4 separate regions of the Homo sapiens genome follow, and regions 1, 2 and 3 are each linked to region 4. Evidence: promoter capture Hi-C in 16 types of primary human blood cells and fetal thymus (Javierre and others, 2016). All regions are on one chromosome and are shown on one strand. The core of a region is centred on a gene start or on the middle of the fragment in contact, and the rest is flanking DNA. Distances in the headings are between cores, read along the strand shown. Region 1 holds the start of FAM131B (family with sequence similarity 131 member B). Region 2 holds the start of KDM7A (lysine demethylase 7A). Region 3 holds the start of NDUFB2 (NADH:ubiquinone oxidoreductase subunit B2). Region 4 holds the start of WEE2-AS1 (WEE2 antisense RNA 1).

What was found. Contacts are between HindIII fragments. The CHiCAGO score rates a contact against its expected background, and 5 or more counts as called.
Region 1: the fragment with the promoter of FAM131B here is called in contact with the fragment with the promoter of WEE2-AS1 in region 4 in 2 of 17 cell types (fetal thymus and activated CD4 T cells); the score reaches 9.2 in fetal thymus.
Region 2: a contact is called between the fragment with the promoter of KDM7A here and the fragment with the promoter of WEE2-AS1 in region 4, in 1 of 17 cell types (activated CD4 T cells). The highest score is 6.3, in activated CD4 T cells.
Region 3: the fragment with the promoter of NDUFB2 here is called in contact with the fragment with the promoter of WEE2-AS1 in region 4 in 16 of 17 cell types (naive CD8 T cells, total CD4 T cells, non-activated CD4 T cells and 13 more); the score reaches 24.2 in naive CD8 T cells.

What each region holds. Positions count from the first base shown.
Region 1 is chr7:143,361,310-143,364,009 of GRCh38, reverse strand. It overlaps FAM131B (family with sequence similarity 131 member B), which reads left to right and starts at 1,297. Exons shown (of 7, transcript NM_001031690.3): 1 at 1,297-1,434. The coding sequence starts at 1,407. It overlaps FAM131B-AS1 (FAM131B antisense RNA 1), which reads right to left and starts at 2,304. Exons shown (of 3, transcript NR_183342.1): 1 at 1,953-2,304; 2 at 753-820; 3 at 1-109. The HindIII fragment of the contact is 5,612 bases long and covers 1-2,700 here.
Region 2 is chr7:140,175,632-140,178,331 of GRCh38, reverse strand. KDM7A (lysine demethylase 7A) reads left to right here and starts at 1,349. Exons shown (of 20, transcript NM_030647.2): 1 at 1,349-1,588. The coding sequence starts at 1,395. KDM7A-DT (KDM7A divergent transcript) reads right to left here and starts at 1,071. Exons shown (of 1, transcript NR_024451.1): 1 at 1-1,071. RefSeq lists silencers at 941-1,370, 1,411-1,510, 2,151-2,330, 2,341-2,620 and an enhancer at 793-1,716. The HindIII fragment of the contact is 8,961 bases long and covers 1-2,700 here.
Region 3 is chr7:140,695,411-140,698,110 of GRCh38, reverse strand. NDUFB2 (NADH:ubiquinone oxidoreductase subunit B2) reads right to left here and starts at 1,403. Exons shown (of 4, transcript NM_004546.3): 1 at 1,269-1,403. The coding sequence starts at 1,366. NDUFB2-AS1 (NDUFB2 antisense RNA 1) reads left to right here and starts at 1,034. Exons shown (of 2, transcript NR_024454.1): 1 at 1,034-1,196; 2 at 1,291-2,700. RefSeq lists an enhancer at 1,085-1,394. The HindIII fragment of the contact is 6,958 bases long and covers 1-2,369 here.
Region 4 is chr7:141,736,592-141,739,291 of GRCh38, reverse strand. WEE2-AS1 (WEE2 antisense RNA 1) reads left to right here and starts at 1,250. Exons shown (of 4, transcript NR_199841.1): 1 at 1,250-1,909. It overlaps SSBP1 (single stranded DNA binding protein 1), which reads right to left and starts at 934. Exons shown (of 7, transcript NM_003143.3): 1 at 882-934; 2 at 102-168. The coding sequence starts at 125. RefSeq lists an enhancer at 1,032-1,917. The HindIII fragment of the contact is 7,644 bases long and covers 1-1,345 here.

The DNA of each region.
Region 1 (2,700 bases), core at 48-2,547, 1.6 Mb before region 4:
GATTCTGTCACCATAATCTCATCTCCTCAATCTGCAATTCAGTTGTTAGTGTCTTCTTCTTGCACATCTTCATCTGCCACCCCATGGGATGTAGCTCTCCATTCATAATCTAAAGGTTAGAAAGTTGCATCCATAAGACTTAGCCTCCCTGTTAGGAGCCCACACCAGGGACCCCTGGCCCATTGCCTTCTCTCTCTGCAACCTCGGAGAGACCTAAAAGTGGGCGAGGTGCAGTCAGAGCCTGGATGGGCACTTGCTTCTGTGAATGCCCACCTGCCCACTCTCTCACACTTTGGGCTTTCTGGGTACACCTTAGACAAAAGGGTCTCCTTGCCCTTTCTCATGCATCTTTTCTGGACTCCACTTCTTACCTGCTGTAACCACAGTGCTCATTTAACCCTTGCAACTTAGACCTTCATCTCCTCCCCATGGGGCTTGAGGTATCTACCTGGCCCAGTCCCACTAGCCAGAGGCCAATCTTTCTCTCTCTTTGCTGCTTCGGGACCGCCTTGCTTTCATTTGTCCGAGAAGATCACGTCTCAGAAAAGTTAAACTGGATTCAAGACGATGTCTCCTAGCCAGCCTCGGGTCCTGACATTGTTGTTAGTCTACTGCGAATGAACTGTCCTCCTCATATTCTCCAATCCCCAACCAGGCCTGGAGGTCAACTATCTGCACATCCCCACACCCACCCCTGAATGTCCAGCGAGCACAGAGAAGTGGACTACACGATTCACTTGCAAAGACTTCACCTTCTGTTTGGATGGACAAAATAGCGCACTCGAAACAACAGAGCCCAAAGCTGTGTCCAATCACGTTCCTGTGTGTGTCCCAGATGCGGCCCCAGGAGGAAAACAAGTGTTTGCGGAATTTGGTGGCCAAAGGCCCTTGGGCCTGGCTTTATTCTCACCACCACCCCACTTTCTCTCAGGGCATCCCCTGACCCCGGCCCGCAAAATCCATCAACCAGAACCTCGGGGTAGGCCCTGGGTTCGTGCCTCGGCTCCTGAAACCCAAGCCGGGGTTCTCCAGGAGAGAGCCCCGGGAGCGGGGCTTGGCACGGGCGGGAGGAGGGGGGCGGCGACGGCGGCCCCAGATCCCCGAGGGAGCGCCCCGGCACGGCCGGAGCAGGGGCGGGGAGGCGCGGGGCGCAGCCAATCCCCGGGCCGCCCCCTCCCCGGCCGCGGCGAGCCGAGCCGGGGCGGGGGAGCCAGGCGGCGGCGGCGGCGGCGGCGGCGGCGGCGACGGAGCTGCCGTGGGGAGGGATGGAGAGGGGAGGGGGGAGCGGAGCCGAGCGGAGACAGCCGCGGCGCTGCAGAGCGGCTGGGGCGGCGGCGCGGCTCCCGGTGCTCCCCCCGGCGCGCGCCCCGAGTCGGTGAGGGCCCGGCTCTGCGGCCCCCGGAGCCATGGGCTGCATCGGCTCCCGGACTGTGGGTGGGTACCGCGGCCGGGCGGGGGCAGGGCTGGGCCCCCCGGGCCGCCCTCCGACCCCCTCCCCCATCCCTCTCCTCGCGCCTCCGGGCGCCCCGCTCCGCACCCGCCTTGCCCTGCTAGCTCCTTCACTTTCCTTCCGTCCGCCCGCGGTCCCTCTGTCCCTCCTTCCTGCCCGCTCTCGTCTTGCGCCTCCGGGGCTGCCATCCCGCTCGGCTCGCTTCCTTCTCCCCGTCGCCCTCCCGCAGGCGCGGTCCTCTCCATCCTCTCCATCGCCCTCCTCTCCTCTGCCTCTCGGCCCGACGCTCGGTCCCCTCATCCCTGCCCCTCCAGGCCATCCGCCTCTGCTCCGCCGTCCCCAGCGCCTCCTCGCATCCCCCACTCCGGAGCAGCCCCCCGCGAAGGACCCTCGGCCTCCGCGCCAGCCCCGAGTTTCTTTCGCACGCCCCCCACGCCACCCCCCGCCGCCGCCTCCATCTGGCTCGGGTGCTTTGCCCCATCTCTCTCTCCCTCTCCGTTGCCTTTTACTGTCGTTCCTGCCTCCTCCGATTCGCTTTGTTCACGTGCGTTTTCCCTCTGGGGCGGGGGCGGGATGAGCCCGGGTTCCACGCCCGGAGGGACAGGGCCAGGGCCGGGTGGAGGGAAGGGGCTGGGGGACGCGGGGAGGAGATGGGGGCTTCGAGGCGCTGGGAGGGGTCGGGAGCCCGCGGCCCGGGAGGGTGGGGCCGGCCCTGCCTCGGCGGCCGGGGACCCGCCTGCACCTGTCAGCGGGGGCCGGCGGGGCGGGGCCGGCTCTTTATTTACCTTTGACGCGGGGAGGGAAGAGAGGCGCCTCCTAATCCATCTTCTCCCTCCAGCTTCTGCCTGGCTACCGCCCCTGACCCCCACCCAGGCACCCACTCCACTCTCGCCGCTCAGCGAATTCATCCGGCCCTCTCCCACCCCCTCCCCCATTCTTCCCCTTTCCAACTCCCAATTTCTCCCGCCTACACCTCCCGGTGACCTCAGGCTGAGAGAATAATTCGTATTATTATTACAAACAAACTCACTCTCCAGAAGCCTGATTTCCCTGAGACCCGGTTTATTTCCATGGATACCCCCTCCTCCTCTGCTTTCACCCCTTCTCCGCGGCTCTCTCCCTCCCCGCTGCCCCCCACAGCTCTGACTCAGCTCTCCGTCTCTCACAAAGGCCACCTCCCGCTCCCCTCTCCCCCCGCACCCCGCCCTCCCCTGTCTCCCTTCTCCTCAGGCTCTTCTCCACCTGCCCCA
Region 2 (2,700 bases), core at 100-2,599, 1.6 Mb after region 4:
AGAAAGAAAGGAAAGAAAGGAAAGGAAAGGAAAGGAAAGGGAGGGAGGGAAGGAAGGAAGGAAGGAAGGAAGGAAGGAAGGAAGGAAGGAAGGAAAGAAAGGAAAGAAAGAAAGAAATGGAGAATTAGATCAGCGACTCTTTGCCTGGGGGTGGGTGACAGAACAACACTTCTTCCTCCCCTAACAAAAATTACCTATGGAGCTGTGAGGGCTTTCCCCACTGATAGAAATGCCAGCAGAAATTCAGCTACAAATACTCAATCCAATAATCCTTAACATCACTTCCAATCCACAGTTATGATTCCAACGCAATCTTTTCTATACAGTATTTGTCAGCTGTTTTTATTCTTCAGTTTATCATCTTATATTTGGCTCTCAATTTCACCCATAAATTATTGATGGCTTATTATACGCCAAGTACCCTGCGCTCCGCTTTTTGTGGTATCCCTCTTCGGAGCGAGAAGTCACTTAGAATTTTACCCCATCTTCCCCACTTGGGAATCGGAAGGGTTCATAGCTAAGTTTTGTTATTTATAAGCACGCCGGCTCTTCTCTATCCCTCTCTCCACCAACCCCATTTCAAGGTTGGTCCCTCCCAGCGGACGACAGTGATGAATTCCTCTTGGGGACAGCCCTCCCGCAACTAACGGTGGCTCCATCGACGCTCTGGTCTCCTTGCTGCTCGCTGGGAATTCGGGTGGGACGTTTTCCAAAGTTTGGATTCCACGGCACATTCCTCCCTCGGAAAGGCACAACCGGCTCGGCGTGTCAGCTCAGCTGGACTCACGCCGGTGCGGGGCCGCAGCTCCGGTTCTCGCTGGGCGGCTGCGGAGGGCTGGGCGATTCTCTCAGCGTCGCGAGGCGACCCGGGCAGCAGCAAACTTCTCCGCTTCCCCTCTTCGGGACGCGGCACCTCTTCTGCCCTTGAGCACTCCGCAGGAACTTCCCCCGGCCTCGGCTCTCGCTCCGAAATAACCGAGCCAGCTCCTCGCACGCTCCCGCCGTCCTCCTCCGGCTGCGGCCGCGCGCCCGCCGCCACCGCCACCACCGCGCGTGTCCTCACGGGGCCTCAGCTCCCTCCGCCCCCGCAGCCGCCTGCGTGCCCTTCAACAGCTCCCTCCGCCCGGCCGTCGCGGAGAGGAGCGGGGAGCGCGCGCCGGCGCCAGAGACGTGCGCGAGACGCACGGCCCCGCGCCGAGCGCCGGAAGCAGCCGAGTCTGGGCCTCGCGCGTCGCGCGCGCCTCCTCCCCCTCCGCCAGCCGCCGCGGCCTCGCGCGCGCGCACTGAGGCGCCGCCGCCGCCGCGGCTGCTGCAGGAGGCGGCGCTGGCTGGCGGCTGCGCTCGCTCCAGTCGGCGAGCGGAGTAGCGAGCGAGCGTGTGTGTGTTTTTTAAAGATGGCCGGAGCGGCGGCGGCGGTGGCCGCGGGAGCAGCAGCTGGAGCCGCCGCGGCAGCCGTGTCGGTGGCGGCTCCCGGCCGGGCCTCGGCGCCTCCGCCGCCCCCGCCCGTGTACTGTGTGTGCCGGCAGCCGTACGACGTGAACCGCTTCATGATCGAGTGCGATATCTGCAAGGACTGGTTCCACGGCAGGTAAATAAACCCCCTCCAGCCCCGCAGCCGCCACCGCCGGCCACCGACCAACCGCCGCCGCCGCCGGCCGCCCGCGCCTCCCTCGGGCCGGGCCGCCGCGCCGCGCCCAGCTTTCAGGGGGCCCCGGTGCCTAGCCCCCCGGCCGGGCAGTGGGGCGCGCGGTGCCCCGGGTTCGCCGGGCGGGCTCCAGAGGGGAGCCGGTGGGCTCGCCTGGCCCGGGCGAAGAGTCGCCACAACAAACACGAACAAAGAGGGCCGGCGGATAAGTTGGCAGGGGGAGCCTGGGGCGAGGGGACGCGGCCGGGCGGGCGCGGCGGGGGCGTCGGGCGGAGCGCCGGCCGGGTCCGCAGCCCCTCGCCAGCCCGGGCCGCCGCCGCCCCGCCCCGCCCCGCCGCGCCCGGGGCTCCGGCCGGAGTCGCCGGCCGCCCCGCCGCTCTGCCCGGCCGGCCGACGCGCCTGCCTTCCTTCCGGGCGGCGATGGGGTCGCCCCGGCCCCGCGTCTCCTCCGCGCCGCGGGTCCCTGTCGCGCCCCCTTCCCCGTCTTTATCAAACTTCCTGGGCCAGTGGGACGGGGGCAGCGGCGGGCCGGAGAGGCGACCGCGCCAGCCAGCTCGGCGGGGCTCCGCGGAGTAAACAGAGCAACAGATGAGGCACTCGCTCTCGGGGACTTGAAAGGTGCCGGGGAAGTTGGGGCCGGGCCCCCGGCGGGCGGCAGGTTGACCCGGGTCGCGGTCCTGGGCCCCCGCACACACCCGGGTCGCCGGGACTGGGGCAGATGGAGTGGGTTGCGGCGGCCCGAAGGGAACGCTTCTCCGGACCCCCTGCGTTGCCCTCGCGCCGCGGCTTAAACTTTACAAAGAGTGCAGTTGCCATCGCTCGAAGCTGGCGACACCGGGACCGCCTGCGGCTGTGCCCGGGCGCCGGTGCCGGCGAACTTGAGTCGGCCGGGCGGACGCTGCGGGGCCGGCTGGCGGCGGCGGCGGACGCTGCCCTCTGATTCAGCCGCCGCCGCGCTCCGGGTTTGACGTTTGAGAGCTCGGGCCGCCTCCGCAGCCAGGCCGCCGACTCGTGTGTTTTGTAATCAAAGTGTGAGGCTAATAAAGGGCGGCGCC
Region 3 (2,700 bases), core at 154-2,653, 1.0 Mb after region 4:
GGCAAGTCACTCCTTTCATTTCCTGGGCCTCAGTTCCTTAATAACAACAACAGTTAAAGAATACTTGTACGGTCCTTAGCAGGCACCAGCAATTGTTTTAAACACTTTAGTGAGACCAAGCGCAGTGGCTCGCCTGTATTCCCAACACTTTGGGAGGCCGAGGCTGGAGAATCACTTGAGCCCAGGAGTTAGAGGCTGCAGTGAGCTAGGATCGCGCCACTGCACTCCAGCCTGCCTGACAGAGTTAGACCCCATCTCCTAAAACACACAAACACGCTTTAGATAACAGTAACTCATTTAGTTCCTTGCAAATGGACGCCAAATGGGTGAGGAAACTGAGGCATTAAGAGAATAAGAAACTTTTCCAAGGTCCCACAGCTGGAGTGTGGCAGAGGTGGGATTTGAACCCAGCCACTGTGCGGCCAGAATCCCGCTTGGAATCACGACCCCACACTGCCTCTTGGTAAAGTGTAGCTGATGATCTAAGGGACCTGGAATCATCCATGACTCTTTTCCAGTCCTGCTCTTACGGAATCTCTGCACACCACTAACTCGGCTTCGGCAGCTGCTCCCTACCTCGCACCCGCTCCCTACCTCGCACCCCCAGCCCTCCGCCCTCCGGTCTGCGTCTCGGGCCACCTCGCGGGCGGCTCTGCCTGTCACTCTCCTAAACGCCACGGCTGCCCCAGCGTTGGCTTCCGGCTTTCTGCTCCTCTCACCCGACGGCGCTCTCTCTGGGCGACAGCCTCCACTCCCTGCAGCCAGAGTGATTTTTCAGCATTAAAAAGCGGCCACGTGACGTCTCCGATTAAAGGCTGCCGAACAGACTCTACCCTAAATTCCGCAGCCAGGCACCGGGACCCTGGACCGCGCCCTCCCTAGGCCTCACCGCCGCCGCCCCCCGCCTCGCTCCAGGAGCGTCCACACCCGCCGCGCACGCTGCTTCCTCCGCCTGGACCGCCCGCGCCGGCGCCGACTGGCTCAGCCCGCTCCGCATTCACGCGTGCGTCTCCCGAGGGCAGGCGGCCCCTACTACCATGACGGCCCTGCACACGGTGTCCCATCTGCCCAGCGAAGTCTCTCCCTCTCCCTCCGGCCAGCGGGGTCCCTCTCCTCGAGTCGCGGCTTCAGGAGACACGCGGACTACAGGTCCCAGCATGCCTCGGGACGCGGCCTCTTCAGGCGCCCCAGTCAAGGTGAGAGCGTCCCAGGGACCCGCGCTGTCCGCTACAGGCCGGCGAGGCCCCCATCCCCAGCCCCACACTCACTGACGGACTCCACCATCTCCAGCAGTCCGTGCGCAGCCGCTTCTGAAAAGGCGGCCTCCAACGCGAGCGAAAGACGCCAGCCGAGTCAGAGCGGACATACTCGCTCCCGTCCGCCCCGCGGTCCCCAGCCGCCTCGCCCCTGCCTACTTCGCTTCCCCGGCGCTCCGCCCGCGCCTCCCGTGACGTCACAGAGTCGCTCATCTCCAGGAGTGGGGGAGCCGGCAGCCGCTCCTGACCCAGATTAGCTGTGAGTCCTTCGGCTGCAGGAAACCTCTCTCCCGAGAGCAAAGCCCACGCATAACTTATGGTTGCTGAGCTGCCCCATGCCTTCTGAAACAGCTTGTTGGTTGCCCCTCTGATCCTGTAGGGCTCTCCCCGTGTTCTGCCCCTCCTAAAACTGAGTGGTGTATAATTCTTTTTTTTTTTTTTTTTTCTTTTTGAGACAAGGCCTTGCTCTGTCACCCAGGCTGGAGTGCAGTGACACCATCTCGGCTCACTGCAACCTCTGCCTCCCAGGCTCAAGCGATTCTCCTGCCTCAACTTCCCGAGTAGCTGGGATTACAGGCATTGTGCCAGGCTAAGTTCGTACGCAGCAATAGATAATGCCACAAATGGCTTGATTCGATCCACTGGCTTTAAGGCTGGGTTGGCATAGGCTCAGGGAAGAGACTGCCGTCTTTTTGTCCCTTTCCCGCCTCCACACTGTACCTGATGCGCACTGGCACGAGGGGCTGCGTGACCAGCTGGTGTTCTCCCTCCCAGCCATCTGGAGCCATCCCAACCCCTCTCTGCCTGCTTTGAATGTCCCCTCAAGACCTGGGAAGGAAAAAATAACATCACCTCCTTGAAAAAAACTGCACCAAAGGAATCTCTGTCCACCTAAACCATACTGCTCACTAAAAGACAGGAATGAGGAACTTTATCCTGGAGAAGGAAAGAATGGGAGAAACTAGTCCTGTAGTCAGGGCAGGACTCTCGGAGAGCGCAAGGGCTTGACTCCATTCGCTGCCTGGTGGTCTCTAAGACGAGCAACATAATCTATGAAGGTGCAGGGATAAACTGTGATTTTACCTAAAAAAAAAAAAAAAGAGAAATTAAGCTTTACAAATACCCCCCCTCCAGGCTGACCCCGGGCCCCTCCTAGTCAGCCAGACGGCCACATCAGCTCAGCTCTGAGAAGAAAGCCCGTGGTTGGGCCTGGCAGAGAGGGGCAGGTGGTGGTCACTGCAGGTCTGTCCCTGGGCGCTGCCATGGAGAAGAGGACACACTGGTTATATTAACTCTCTTCATATTCACCAAAATTAATGCCTGCAAGTGGACAGGCGCAGACACTGTGGCAGAGAAACTGTAGTTCCGGACTAGCGGGTGAACCCGGGGCCATGTTAAGGAAGTGGCCAAGCCGTTCTGCTCACGTCCCCGGTATGTCAGCCAC
Region 4 (2,700 bases), core at 1-2,500:
CTCAAAGGTCTTTTGCCCCTGTAGTTAAAAGCCTAAAGAAGTCTTCTGATCACTGTGGCTGATAGTAATACATCTCAGTATTAATACAGACAAGTGACTACCTGTAATACAGGTCTTCGAAACATGGCTTCTATTTTCTTTTCTTACAGTCTAATCTTTAGGCTTTTCCTGAAGGAAAAAAACAAAATAAGAAAAAAACATTACCTCTTATGGCAAAAGTACAACTCACCAGTCCTAAATTCCTAACTATATTCATAATTTTTATGCACTCCAATTTTGTGACCACAACGTACCAACATTCCTGCACATCTGATGAGGATTCCTTCCTCCCTCCCAAATAAACTCACACCTGTATGTCTTTTTGGTCCCAAATAACTTCCTCTTCCTCCAACCCATCGACAAAATTTTGATTCTGAGTTAATCCCACTTCCAATCCACTGTCTTCTCAAATTTCATTACTATGCAAGCTCCCTTAGAGCAGAGATTTGTATCTGCTTTATTCACTGCCATTTTCTAAACTTCTAAAAAAGTTCTTAATGCATAGTAAGGCCTCCATAAATATTAGCATCACCAAGGGACTTATATCTGAAACCTGTTACTGAAAAATTACTGCCTTCATCTCCGTTAACAAAGACCAAGCAGCGTAGAGACCCCCGGGCTAGCCAGCCACACCATAGGGAGAGGTGGACACCCTTTACCGAAGATGGCGCCACCACCTGAAAACCGAGGAGAACTGGAAGGAAATCACGCGGTCCTCCGCACGACTGATGAAAGGGCCAGACACCTACACAGAAACACCTCCCGACCCACGCAGGATCACGCGCAGCCAAAACACACGACTCCAGCACTTCCTTCGCGCTGGCTATCCCTTCCTCCCTCACCTGACGATCTAACCCGAGCAGCCCAGCCACGCAGGGGATCACTTCCGGCGCACAGGGAACGCAAAGCTCGCCAGAGGAAAAAGGAAACAGAAACTCCGCAACTTGCGCCTTGGAAATACTGCCGGCTAGCGCTGCGGGAAACGGCTCCCCTTAACTCTGAAGTTCCGCGATCTTCTCTTTGTGCGCGGGCGGATGGATCAACGCCGCCAAGTGGTGAGTTTGGAAGGTTTCAAGTTTAGAAGGTTTCAAGTTTAGAAGGTTTCAAGTTTGGAAAGAAATGAAATTATGTGATGAGGTTTCTAACTGGGCCCAGGAGGGGGCGAGGTAGGCAAAACAGAGACTAGCTCTGCCTGGAGGGAAAAAAAAGCAACATTTGTGACCAGCCTAGGCGACATAGTGAGACCTGTCTCTACAAAAAATATATAATTAGCTGGGCGTGGTGGCGCGCGCCTGTGGTCCAAGCTTCTCCGGAGGCTGAGGTCGGGGGATCGCCTGAGCCCTGGAGGTCGTTGCTGCATTGAGCCGTGAACGCACCACTGCATTCCAGCCTGGGCAACAGAGCGAACTCTATCTCAAAACAAAACAAAACAAAACAAGAAAAAGAAAAAAAGAAGAAAATTAAAAAAAAAAAGAAAGAAAAAGAACGTCCCAGGTCTGTTGAAGCACTAAGAAAAGCAGAAAAAGAAAGGGGAGCCAGGGAAGGGCTGGCAGGCTGTGCAATTTAAGGGAGCACCAGAAAAACTGGCAATCAAATAATATATTAATGTAATATTTTAAAAAGTAAAAATTAATGCAGGAAATCCGGGAGGAACAAAATAAGAGTCATGTGTACCTTAACAACAGGGTAAGGTCTGAGGATTGCGTCATTAGGCGATTTTGTTGCTGTACGAACACCACAGAATGTACTTTGACGACCTAGATGGTGGAGCCTGGACACACCTCGGCTCTGTGGTGTGGCCTGCTGCTTCCAGGCTGCAAACCTGACAGCATGGGGCTGTACTGAATACCGCAGACCATTGTAATTCATGGTAAGTATCTGTGTGTCTAAACATATGTAAACATGGAAAAGGTACAGTACAAATGCGGTATAAAAGATAAAAATGGCACACCTGTATGGGGCGCTTACCATGAATGGAGCTTGCGGAACTGGAAGTTGCTGTGGGTGAGTAAATGAGTGAGTGGTGGCCCAACATGAAGGTCTAGGACATTATTGTACCCACTAAACACTTCATAAACACTGTACACTTAGGCTACACTCAGTTTATAAAAAATACTTTTCTTCCTTTAATAAACTTTCACTCACTATAACTTTATAAATCTTCCAAATTTTTTTACGTTTTAACTGTTTTGTAATAACAATTAGCTTAAAACACACACTGTACCACTGTACAAAAATATTTTTCTTATATCCTTATTCTACAAGCTTTTTTCTACCTTTGCTTTTTTTCTTTTTTTTTTTAACTTTTTAGCCATTTTTTAAAAAAACTAAGACATAAACACACACATTAGCCTAGGCCTACACAGGGTCATTATGATCAATCTCAGCCTTCCACTTCCACATCTTGTCCCACTGGAAGGTTTTCAGAAGCAGTGACACACAGGGAGCTGTCATCTCCTATAACAGTGTCTTCTTCTGGAATCCCTCCTGAAGGACCTGCCTGAGGCTGTTTTACAGTTAACTTTTAAAAAATAAGTTAAATAATAATATAATAAAAAGTATAGTAAATACATAAACCAGTGACATAGTCATTATTAATATCAAGTAACACATGAGTAATACATTGCATTCTGATGTTTTAGCAGGTATGATGTCACTAGA